Linked DNA regions of Homo sapiens: region 2 is linked to region 1. The links are contacts of gene promoters, found by promoter capture Hi-C in blood cells and fetal thymus (Javierre and others, 2016). All regions are on one chromosome and are shown on one strand. Each heading gives the region's core, a stretch centred on a gene start or on the middle of the fragment in contact. The rest is flanking DNA. Distances are from core to core; before and after follow the strand shown. Region 1 holds the start of LINC01148 (long intergenic non-protein coding RNA 1148). Region 2 overlaps LINC02328 (long intergenic non-protein coding RNA 2328).

The links. Contacts are between HindIII fragments. The CHiCAGO score rates a contact against its expected background, and 5 or more counts as called.
Region 2: a fragment that was not itself captured here is called in contact with the fragment with the promoter of LINC01148 in region 1 in 2 of 17 cell types (M0 macrophages and M1 macrophages); the score reaches 9.5 in M0 macrophages.

What each region holds. Positions count from the first base shown.
Region 1 is chr14:86,903,305-86,909,648 of GRCh38, reverse strand. LINC01148 (long intergenic non-protein coding RNA 1148) reads right to left here and starts at 3,871. Exons shown (of 5, transcript NR_038445.1): 1 at 3,600-3,871. The HindIII fragment of the contact is 4,593 bases long and covers 2,146-6,344 here.
Region 2 is chr14:86,066,409-86,072,752 of GRCh38, reverse strand. LINC02328 (long intergenic non-protein coding RNA 2328) reads right to left here. Exons shown (of 4, transcript NR_110155.1): 2 at 1,786-1,890. Among named protein-coding and RNA genes, the nearest start is that of LINC02316, 6.6 kb to the right of the region's middle. The HindIII fragment of the contact is 994 bases long and covers 1,875-2,868 here.

The DNA of each region.
Region 1 (6,344 bases), core at 2,622-5,121:
AGCTTGCTTATTATCCCCTCACAAAACACAATTAGGGTTGATGTTGGAGGTGGTTAGATTTGGAATTAATATAGAGAAATTCATTCTCACCATCGAAGTTGTTCCCAGGTAAAATCAGTGGCCTCCATAGGGAGTGTGTGTTCAGGATTGTATCAGGTGACTGCTTGGCAGGGATATTCTAGAGATGATATGAGCATCACGTAGATATTTTGAGAGACTTTCTTATAGGTTGCTTCCAACCTTGGGATTCTTTAATTCAAGTCTTTTCATGGCAGCATGAACAAATTAAAGACTGGATTTAGAATATGGGAATAGCATGATATGTGAGAATGGCAAATTAATGCCATATTTCATGATTTACAAAGCAAAATTATTTCCTATAATTTTCTGCCATGTGATATCTTATAGTCTCTCAGAAAACTGTTTTGGATAACATTTCAAGCCTTCTCCCACTCAGTTTCTGGTGGTGTTCTCTGTGTGTGAGTACTTGGCAAAACTTGTTTAATAAGTGCTATATTTCAATTTGCCTGATAATAAATGAGTCAAAGAGGAGTACAGATAACTGCATTTCCATTGACCATTTTAGCAACAGAAAACAGCAAATGCCTATTGACTGACAGACAGTTACAGAGCAAGCCAATGACAAGATGATTGAAATATCTGCCTTTATCCTTCCAGCTCCTTGTTCCATCAAATAAATGAAACTATGCTTTATTGATGCTGTGTTTATATTTGGGAAAGCATGCATATGAACACTGCCTGATGTTGGATTTTGCAAATATTATTAGAAAATAACCAGCTGTGTTTGGACCTGATGAAGCTATTTATTATTTTAAATACTTGGAAGGAAGGAGGGATGCCCGTATGCTTTGTCTACGTGGTGTGATCTCACTAAAAGACATGATGTGTATATATCAAAACTCAGTAAAAGAGGGAAATTCCTTCAAGCTTCAAATGTTGACGAACCCTTTTGCTTATTTCTAATAGTATTCCATTCAGTTCACACAGCCTAAATTATTTCTGAAACATTACCTCAGCAGAGCTTGTTAATACATTCTTTTATGTCTGCCCGCCTTTTAAACACTCAGTTTACACTTACTTTTCCCTGGCTAACTTCATGCAGCAGATAGGCAAACTTTATCCTAAAAAGTAGTAAAATGAATCTCAATGTTTAAGCAATTAACTGATATACAAAGTATATTTATATAAGGCCATGTTTAAGACACTAAGGTATTACAGACATAATTTTCTTGTAATTAAAATTTCTTTCTTTCATTAGCTTACCTGGCTAGCACTACATATGAAAACTTATTTACAGAGAGGCAGCAAATTACATTCATTTTCTGCTCTTTTCTTTATTGCTGCTAACGCATTATATAGGGCCCAGGATACTGCTGTAGTTTAGCTTCCTGTCCCTGTTCTTAACTTTTTTTTCCTCATCACTTGCCATGTTTTATTGGTGAACAAGTATAACAAAATGTGGAATACACATTTCAGTTCTCTGAAGACATTTTCAAGATTTGTCTAATTACTCTCTTTCTTCATAATGGTAAATAAATTATTTATCTTACTGCAAAAGTTCATTTTAATGAGGCATTTAATAGAATATTTTCATAAGACCTGGACACAGTAGCTGTCACAAAAAATAACTGGATAGGAAATAGTGGAAACTAATCTTTCTTCTGCATTTATTTGCATTAAGTACTTACATAGGTGTTATTTAATCTTCAGAACAGCTCTAGGAAGAAGATGTTGTACATAACTTAACACATTAAGAAGAAAATTGAAGAAGTGAAGGAACTTGTCCAATCACATGCATCTAGCCAGTTTCAGCAGTGAGGTTTCTGTCTAGTTTGCTGTGCCTTAAAATGTTTGTGCTCCGTGGTACTTTATGCTGTTCTTTTCTTCTGTAGGAATTAGGGCTTAACCCATTTTTGACTGAGGCAGTTCAAGTTAAATGTGATATGGAGAAATTACCTCTACAGCCATATAAAAAACAGCAGGAAAAAATGCCATTTAGAGGAATCTTTATGGAAAAATGAGAAGCAAACTGCTCCTTTATGAAAGAGAACTTTAAAAATCAATTAAAATGAAAACTAACGCAATTAATTTCCTTTAGGACTTAAAAAAATCAGTGCTAAAGCTTGAAATAAATGGATTCTGTTAAAACCACTGGAAACTAGTTATTGATTCTGTTATTATTATTTATATTCATTGTTGGGATAAATAGAGATATGTCATTGATTATCACTGCCATGAAAACTGAGATTTGAATATACCACAAGAGTTCTCATCTCCTGATTTAAAAGAACTTTTCATATCTGTATCTTTTAAAATATTAAAAATAAATCTTCAATATTTTTGTTCATTTATAAAGCTACATCATAGGTTTTAAGAATATTAATACAAACAAAGGATTTCAATGAAAAATATGACGCATGAGGAAGTTTATTCGGAAAGATGACATTGAGTTTCTAGCCCTTTAATATACATAGGGTTAAACTATAAAAGCGCTGAGATAAATCTTTGCATGTGCTACAAGGTATAATAATTATGACTGGCTTAAACTATAGACTCATTTGATGTGATCAAGTGATGCCCACGTCTTATAATTGAGGGACATTATTTGCCAAAAACCCCTTCTCAACATGTGCTCCATAATGCACCTGAAGTACCTTCATTATCATAACATGACTTTATGTTTAGCATTACCCTCTTTTCTGGAGTCTTCTTTTAAAATGTTGATATTTCAACAATTAGATAACCTCCCTTCTTGACAGGATATTCCTGACCAATATAGGAAGAAAATAAATTATTTTGTTATGAAAGACAGAAGACAACAATAGCAAACTGCATACTCTACCACTGTATTTAGAATCAGTCTCAAATTTAGCTGGACTTCACATTCATGGATTCAGCTTTACAGGTTATGTAATATTTTGAGATATAAATTCACATTGGAAGACTTGTCATGAATAGACCAAGAATCCTTAATTCAAAGCATCATTTAGAAATGTTAATTTTTGTCAATCAATACTAAATAATCTTCTGGGGTTTCCCTCGGTGATATCCTAACACTCAGTGGATGTCATTTTTATTTTATTTTTAATATCAGTATCATCTATATTCCTCTTTTTTTGGTTCTATTCAACAAACTTTTACTGATCACCTACTATAAGCCAGGTTATCTCTAGATACTTGGATTACAAATATAGATATGTTGTTTCTTCCACCTTGAAGAATTTCAATTTTCTAAGAGGGGGCAATCAGGGGACACAAAATTACATAGACTTCCTAAATGACCATACTTTAAGAGTAAGAGGCACAAAACAAACCAACCAACCAACCACCACCAACAACAAAAAACAAAAACAAAAACAAACACCCATAATTTATAAAGGGTATAGTATTTGGGGAGGGGGTGAAATTGACACTAAAACTTTCTGTGTAAACGGAAAAATGTTGTTTTTAAAACTGTTTTAAAATAGTTTCTGTCTCTTTAGAGGTCGATTTATCTTGGGCAAGCAATAAATACTTTTGCTCTCAGAAAACCGCCAAAACTTATTTTCTTATTAGCTGAGTAGAAAACAAGTACTCACCATTGTGGCTATGGAAGACATAAGCAGGCCAAAGGCATCATTCACCTAAGTAGAGACGAGGTGACAGCGTGCTGTCAGTCCTCACAGCCCTCGCTCCCTCTTGGCGCCTCCTCGGCCTTGGCGCCCACTCTGGCCACGCTTGAGGAGCCCTTCAGCCCGCCGCTGCACTGTGGGAGCCCCTTCCTGGGATGGCCGAGACCGGAGCCGGCTCCCTCAGCCTGCAGGGAGGTGTGGAGGGAGAGGCACGGGCGGGAACCGGGGCTGCGTGCTGCGCTTGCGGGCCAGCTAGAGTTCCGGGTGGGCGTGGGCTTGGCGGGCCGCGCACTCGGAGCGGCCAGCCGGCCCTGCCGGCCCCTGGTAGTGAGGGGCTTAGCATCCTGGCCAGCAGCTGTGGAGGGTGCGCCGGTTCCCCCAGCAATGCTGGCCCACCGGCGCTGCGCTCGATTTCTCGCTGGGCCTTAGCTGCTCCCCCGCGGGGCAGGGCTTGGGACCTGTAGCCTGCCATGCCTGAGTCTCCCCGCCCCGACGACGCCGTGGGCTCCTGCGCGGCCTGAGTCTCCCGGACGAACGCCGCCTCCTGCTCCAAGGCGCCTGGTCCCATCAACCGCCCAAGGGCTGAGGAGTGCGGGCGCACGGCGCGGGGCTGGTAAGCACCTCCACCTGGGGCCCCAGTGGGAGATCCACCAGGTGAAGCCAGCTGGGCTCCTGAGTCAAGTGGGGACTTGAGAATCTTTATGTCTAGTTAAGGGATTGTGAATACACCAATTGGCACTCTGTATCTAGCTCAAGGTTTGTAAATGCACCAATCAGCACTTTGTGTCTAGCTGAGGGTTTGTAAATACACCAGTCAGCACTCTGTATCTAGCTAATCTAGTGGGGACGTGGAGAACTTTTGTGTCTAGCTCAGGGATTGTAAATGCACCAATCAGCACCCTGTCAAAACGGACCAATCAGCTCTCTGTAAAACAGACCAATCGGCTCTCTGTAAAATGGACCAATCAGCAGGATGTGGATGAGGCCAGATAAGAGAATAAAAGCAGGCTGCCTGACCTAGCAGTGGCAACCGTTGGGGTCTCCTTCTGCATTGTGGGAGCGTTGTTCTCTCACTCTGCAGTAAATCTTGCTGCTGCTCATTCTTTGGGTCCACACTGCCTTTATGAGCTGGAACACTCACTGCGAAGGTCTGCAGTTTCACTCCTGAAGCCACCGAGACCACAAACCCACCGGGAGAAAGGAACAACTCCAGACGCGCCGTCTTAAGAGTTGTAACACACACTGGGAAGGTGTGCAGCTTCACTCCTGAGCCGGGGAGACCACGAACCCACCAGAAGGAAGAAACTCCGAACACATCCGAACTTCAGAAGGAACAAACTCTGGACACGCCGTCTTTAAGAACTGTAACACTCACCGCAAGGGTGGTGGCTTCACTCTTGAAGTCAGACCAAGAACCAACCAATTCCAGACACAGAGATATGTTTGCCATACAAATTATTGTTCTGCCGGGTAAATGAAGTTGCATGTATCTTTCAATATAAAATAAGTGCAAATTTTATATGCCTGTTTGGGAAAAATAGTACCTTTGTTTGATTTAAAACACTTTTCTTCTGTTTTTAAATTTTAGACTTTTCTAATGGAGTTGTATATAGCTGTTTTTGAGCAGCTGTTTGTAAATGAGAAGCTGTGATGGAAGAATCTTAGGAAAGTGATGAAGGCTGTTCTTTATTTCAACCCTAAAGAGACTATGAAAAGGAACTAGACTGAGCAAACACTAAACTTGGATTATTGTGTTGTGATGTGATTGTGTCCTTTAGGCCAAAGGCGAATACCCCAACAGTATGATTGGGAGTTGGGTTTCTCCTGAAGGGAATGGCATTTCCTACAATCGATAAACCTGGGAAGAGTTCAAAGATGGGACAGGAAATAAGGAATTGAAACACGCGGCCTGGATTTTTAAACTTCATAGGGGACAGACTCTTTTGCTATTATGTCTACTCAAGGTCGAGTAAACACAGGTGTTCACATGATGATGATGCCTTGGTTGCGTGTAAAAAGACTCAGAATTTAAGTAATTCGAGTAACTAATTACTAGGCCATATCAGGAAATGACTGACTTCCAATTGCCAAATGGCTTGTGGTGCCATCATTTGAACAATCCCAGATTGAGTTCCATTAATTGCAATGATAACAGACAAACCACTGTGTTATGCAATTATGAATACAAGGTCATTGTTGTGATGTCTATAAAATGCCTTAATGTGGGGGATAATCTTCTATGTACCACATTGGTGTTGCCAATACATGTTTCTGCCGCAAAACAGACAATAGACCCAGAGATTCTGTTCCCCAATAAATTGCCACTAGGGGGCAGCAGGAGTTTATTTAATACAAAGTAAAATCAAAAGTATTTTTTTCTTTTCTCTTTTTTTTTCTTTTTGAGACAGAGTCTCGCTCTGTTGCCCAGGCTGGAGTGCAATGGCACAATCTCAGCTCACTGCAAGCTCCACCTCCCGCGTTCACGTCATTCTCCTGTCTCAGCCTCCCGAGTAGCTGGGACTACAGGCGCTCGCCACCACGCCCAGCTAATTTTTTGTATTTTTAGTAGAGACGGTGTTTCCCAGTGTTAGCAGAATGATCTCGATTTCTGACCTCGTGATCCTCCCGCTTCGGCCTCCCAAAGTGCTGGGATTACAGGCGTGAGCCACCGCGCCTGGCCTAATCAAAGTATTTTCTAAAGTACCAATGTTC
Region 2 (6,344 bases), core at 1,122-3,621, 840 kb after region 1:
AAGCAATCCAGTAATGAGACTAAATTTAGGAGCATTTCCTTTCATTCTAGCCTTCCTTGGTTTGGTTTCACATCAGTGGGCCCATTATGCACTCCAACGGCCCTGTAAATAACTTCTTGCTTTGCTTTGGAGTTATTTGACTCTCCTGCATTTAGCCATCCTTCTAGGCTAATTCAAAGCATATCTAAGTTAAAATTCAACCTTAAAAAATAAAGCACTTAAATGGACATCTCAGGATTAAAGAAAAACATCACTAAGTTGACTTTGCATATAATGTTTCTATGATTGCAGAAGCAGAAGGAAGAATTTCATTAAGACCCAGTGCGAGTAACAACAAAATAAAATGATTGTGGTGAGCCTCAGCCCAACGGCGACATCCAGGAAACTGACAGAGCTGAGGCAGCTCCTAGGATGTCAACGCAAAGGTTGACAGAGCCTGCCAAGGAACCAGATGCTGATGTCAGACAGAGACAGGAAAAATGGACCACAGTTTGTTATCTGTTTCCTGTGATTAGAATCAGCATCAACCCTCACTCTCTTTTTCAGATTAATTAATAAAGTCTGGTGTGAAGAATTTCAATAAAATATTTGTTCAAAAGGGAGAAAAGAAACATCTGCTTTAGAATTGTTTTCCCCTTTAGTCAGAGTCTGTAAAATGTGTGTACGTTGGTTTTTTTCTGTGCCTACATTTGGTGGACATTAAAACAATGTTTAAGCACAGTAAAATGTAGTAGTGTTTACCTCCGATTTTAGAAGATACTTTTCTCAATATTGGTGCCAGTGTCAACATTTAATATATGTTTTTTACCTTTTCCTCCTCTCTCTCTCCCCCCCTTTCTTTCTCTTTCTTTCTTCCTTTCTTCCTTGCTTTCTTCCTTCCTTCCTTCCTTCCTTTCCTTCCTCTCTGTCTCTCTTTCTCTCTTTCTCTCTCTCCCTTTCTTCCTTCCTTCCTTCCTTCCTTCCTTCCTTCCTTCCTTCCTTCTACTACTACAACAACAAAGCACATCTTTCTGTCTTGGATGTTTTCTTTAAGAAGTAAAACTGGCCGGGCGCGGTGGCTCACGCCTGTAATCCCAGCACTTTGGGAGACTGAGGCAGGCGGATCACGAGCTCAGGAAATCAAGACCATCCTGGCTAACACGGTGACACCCCGTCTCTACTAAAAATACGAAAACTTAGCCGGGCATGGTGGCGGGTGCCTGTAGTCCCAGCTACTCAGGAGGCTGAGGCAGGAGAATGGCGTGAACCCGGAAGGCGGAGCTTGCAGTGAGCAGAGTGTCCAGCCTGGGCGACAGAGCGAGACTGTCTCAAAATAATAATAATAATAATAATAATAATAATAATAATAATAATAATTAGAAATAAAACTCTATATTAAGACCAATCACACCTTTCATGGCACCAAGCTCAAATGAAACCATGATAAACTGTGAAAACCAGAGGTGTCTGTGACCTAAAACAATTTTTTAACCTCTTAAATGCAAGGGCTATGTGAAGAATGCGGGTTTTCTTTTCCCCCCAACCTCTTGCATGACAGTCACTCGTCGATTAGAAAAAACACAGCATGGCCAAAGGCAAGTACAAATTGTAATCAAGTTTATAGTTTGTAAATTAAAAACGTATTACATAATAGAAAAGTTTCCTCTTTTCTATAGAAACATGATGAAAACAACACATACTTGAATAGTGATTTACAGTCTAGCTGTACATGTGTACATGTATACTACCTTATTTAGTCTTTATAACAAAATTGAGAGATGCAGAAACTGGATATCGTAGACTTACCCAAAGGCAAACAGCAAAAAAGTCATGGAACTCAACTTCTGGATTTGCTTTTCCAATTCCAGGACTCTTACAGTTACACTACCAAAGCTTCAGAAAAAAAAGCACCTATTAGAGAAAAAAAAAATATGAAAGCTGTATACAAATATTGGTACAACTTTTCAAAATGCTGGGTCAAATACAGTTCTTTCTCAAGGAAGAAGAATTAGATGAATAGACAAACACACATTATTCCAACCGGGAGTTTCATTATCTCCTTTTTCCCCATGTGTTTTAAAGGATGTGTCAGACTGCATTAGGATTATTTAAACAAGGATGTGCCATTTGAGTCACTAATATTAGATTACTTTGTCATCCATCATCTCATAGGTTTTACAATCCTATTTTCATAAAAAGAGAGTAACCGATGCGCTCAAGTTCAGTTAGGAGTAGCAGAGCCAGTACACAATTAAGGCATTCTTTATCTGAGTCCATTCACTGACTATCTCTTCCTCTATCTTAGCTATCTCTATTTATCTCTAGTCATCTACTTATCTAGCAAAATATAATTCACTGCAATATCCTTTTCTGGGAAAATTATATGCACCTTCTTCCATCACCTCTATGAGGGTGCACACAGACAATACCTCCATGACACAGTCTAGAGGGGTGGCCTCTGAAGACGTCTTACCTGTGGCGTTTTAAGATGGATGCCTGTGCTTTCTTAGTCAATAGTCAAAGACAGAAAAATAAACCAATTATGTATGAAATTGAGAATACCAATTATTTACTATTAACGTATACATAAATTTAGTTTATTTTAAAGGAAAGGTCATCATATACTTTTCTGAGAAAGGAGCACTCTCTCCAGATAGTTAAAATATTTAGAAGCATGATTTCTCAGTGAGAGTATTATTTATGGTTTGAAGATCTGCCCTGGAGCCATTTTGAAATCTGCTTATCAATCTTTTAAACCCAACTGAAATCTTCTGTCTGCTTCTTGTGAGATTCGGTAGAACAATTAAGGAACTTGTAGAACATTTTTTCCTAATCTCAAGTCATGCTCCTTAAAGTTTAAGTGGAGAGGGCTCTATAGATGAAGAAGCTTCAGGATAGACTATTCCACATCTAAATTAAAATCAGAGAGGGCTAGAAGATTTCTTTCACAGCTGTTGAAGATAAGGCTAAGAAACTATATCTAGTGCCTAAGACAGAACCACATCCACCATGAATGATAACAGAATTTACCTGAAAATTTAAAGGTTGGGGACCAATGTGTAACCACTAGAATTACTTTTTTTTTAATCTAGTGGTTTATTTACATAAATTATTTTGTTAAGTAAATTATGAAATGTGTAAAGCATAAAACTATAAGGTGCTCTTTAATTTTAATGACATTATAATAAATTTAAAGATATCTTAAATTTACCCTATTTGAGTAAGATATAAGACGAGATTCATCAACTGATGACAAATACATAGTTGTATTTACAACTGGCAACACATATTCAGGCACTTTGAAAATTTCTGGCCATATATGCTATGTACACTATGAACATGGAATCCAAGTGACAAAACTGGGGCAAATATGACACTTCAATCAGCTGATAATGCAATATTGATATTTCACAAGTAGCTCAGTGACTTTGCATAGCATTTAGTTTCAATAACCAGGTTTGATATTTAACTGAAGGATTTCATTTTTTCTTTAACATTGGCTTTTTTGAATATTTATTTTAATCTTACTTCTCTGTTACTGTATCTTTCTTAGTCTGCTCAAGACTCCATGGACTGGGTGGCAGGTTAGAAGCTAGAAATCCGGTGCCAGCATTGTTGGTTTCTTGCCAGAAATGCCTTCTTGCTATGTTCTCACATGGCAAAGAGAGAAAGAGACAGCAAGCACTCTGTCACCTTTTTTATGAAGGCCACCAATCCCATCGTTGGAGATTGAGGACATTAATCTCTACTCTCATGACCTCATTTAAATCTAATAGTCTCCCAAAGACCCCATCTTCAAATACCATGACATTGGGGGTTAGGGGTGGTTACAGACTGCAGGTTTATGTCCTCTCAAAAGTCATATGTAGAAACCTAATTACCAATGTGACGGTATTTGGAGGTGGGTTCTTTGAGAAATGATGAGATCTGGAAGACAGAACATTCATGAATGGGATTAGTACTCTTACGAAAGGGATTCCCGAAAAGTCCCTCACTCCTTCTGCCATGTGAGGACACAGGGGAAAGACAATCATTTATGGAAAACAAAATGGGCCCTCACCAGACATTGAATCTGCTGGCACCTTGATATTGTATTTCCCAGCCTCCAGAACTATCATAAATAAATTTCTGTTGCTTATAAGCCAGCTAATCTATGATATTTTGCTATAGCAGCCTGAGCTGTCTAAGATAGATCTCAATATATGCATTTTGGAGAGACACAATTCAGTCCATAGCATTTCATCCTGGACTCCAAAATTCATGTCCTATGTCATTCTCATATCCAAAATACATCCTTTTCATTCCAGTAGTCTTTTAAACATATGTTAACAATTCTGACCATTTATAGGAATGATTTTATGATATGTGGTCATAAAATATTATACTAAAAATCATGATTAAATATATGGAATTAATTTCTATTTTTCCACTTAAATACAAAAATATACAGAATTATTCACATATTTTAAATAATTTGAAATCAGTAGAAATGTGTTTAGCATCCTTACCTATGATAAGATTAAGAAGCTGATGAGCATGAGCAAACATAACATCTTGGATATTAAAGAGGTGAACTGGTAATATGATTATGCCAATGCTAGACATATTTAGTTCACATATGTTTACAACTAAAACAATATTGGAAACAACCTAAATATAAAATAATTGGGCTTTATACTTTCCTAGGAATATCTATTACGATTATCAAACTATACTTCTGCAGAATTTTAATTATTTAAAATCAAGCACAATATGCGGCGTTATGTCTTTACATGTTTGAACACAGAACACATGTTGTAATTTTACATGTGTGTATGTGATCTACTTAAGAATAACTGTTTTTTAAATTTAGTACCGTTAACCTTCAGCAACATTGGAGTGAGGGGCACTAACTCCGTAAGCAATTAAAAACCTGTGTATAAATCTTGACTCCCCCAAAACTTAACTACTAATAACCCACTGTTGACTGGCAGCCTTACTGATAACATAAACAGTCAATTAACACATATTTTGTATGTTATATGCATTACTTACTGGAATTCCTTTAAATTTTTTAAAATAAATTAACTTATTTTTTTCCTTCTCTCTATACATACACACAAACATATGCACACACACACATATTCACACACACACACACACACCCTACTGGTGTTGTTCTCTAGGGAACACTAATACACTATCTTTCAGAGAAAAGCAAATGCTAAACTATTTATGTACCAAAACTCAATCCTTGATACGTGGTCTAAAATAAAGAAAATATTTGAAATTATAAGTTTCAGAAAATCCAAGATAACGTCTAAATAATTTGCCACTAGAAACAAGGAAAATATGTTCTCTGCAGACATGACTGGCCGAGGGCTTAATCCCAAAAACCTCCAGTTATGCTTCTATTGATATTTTGTTTCCTATAAAAGAAAAATAACGAATAAACAGAAACTGAAAAGTATTTTGTTCTGGCTCAATCCTTTGCTTACAGTTTCCATCATAGGTATGATTATCTATCTGTGAAAGATAAGGACCCATCTTGATGAAATTTCTTACAAAGTTGGCAACTTTATATTTTATCTTTTCCTGTTTGGTTTATCTTTCCCATTTCCTATAATATACATCATATTTTTTTCTGGCTGTGCACTTAACAGGCTTCCCAATTTTAATTTTTGTCTAGTGGGAGCAGTATGTTTTCTTGGTTTTGAGGTTGACACTCTTGTTGGATACTGACCATATGTTTTTACAATATATATTATACCAAGTTCCTGTTTTCTCAGTGCTTATTTTTATATGTAGGGGTTAACTAGAGTAAAATGAACAGATTAAATTATATTTCAGTCATAGCCTGGATTAATTTTCACTTAAATTTATTTCAAACTAAATGTTTCATCCCTATTCATCTTTATTCATTCAACTGTATCCCATGGATGCTCGCCATTTAAACACCTGGTAGTTTTCCCTTCTTGGCAGATTCTTGGACTCGTCCTAGCTTTTCAAATGTTTTAGTAGAATTAAGAACATTATTATTCTCAAAGGTGAGGAGGGCTTGGGGGAAATTTTAATGTAACTTATTTTCATTGCCAAAGATATGCTATGGGTTTAAGAGGTAAATTTCATAGCTACAACCCCCCACTCTGGGTTCCATACTTGTTATGAATGTGAATCTTCCCAGTGCCTTTGTGAGGACTTAGAAGGTGGAAGTGTCATAGAGTTATTAACAGAAAGCACCAATAAATAGCGGTGGCTTCAATGTCTGAATAATGCTTTCACTATAAACTAAGAAGTTTGGAAAACCCAAAAATATAATTCATGTAACACAACACTAACATTGCATTTTACTTTTCTTGTGTACACCCTGAATACATAGTTTAATA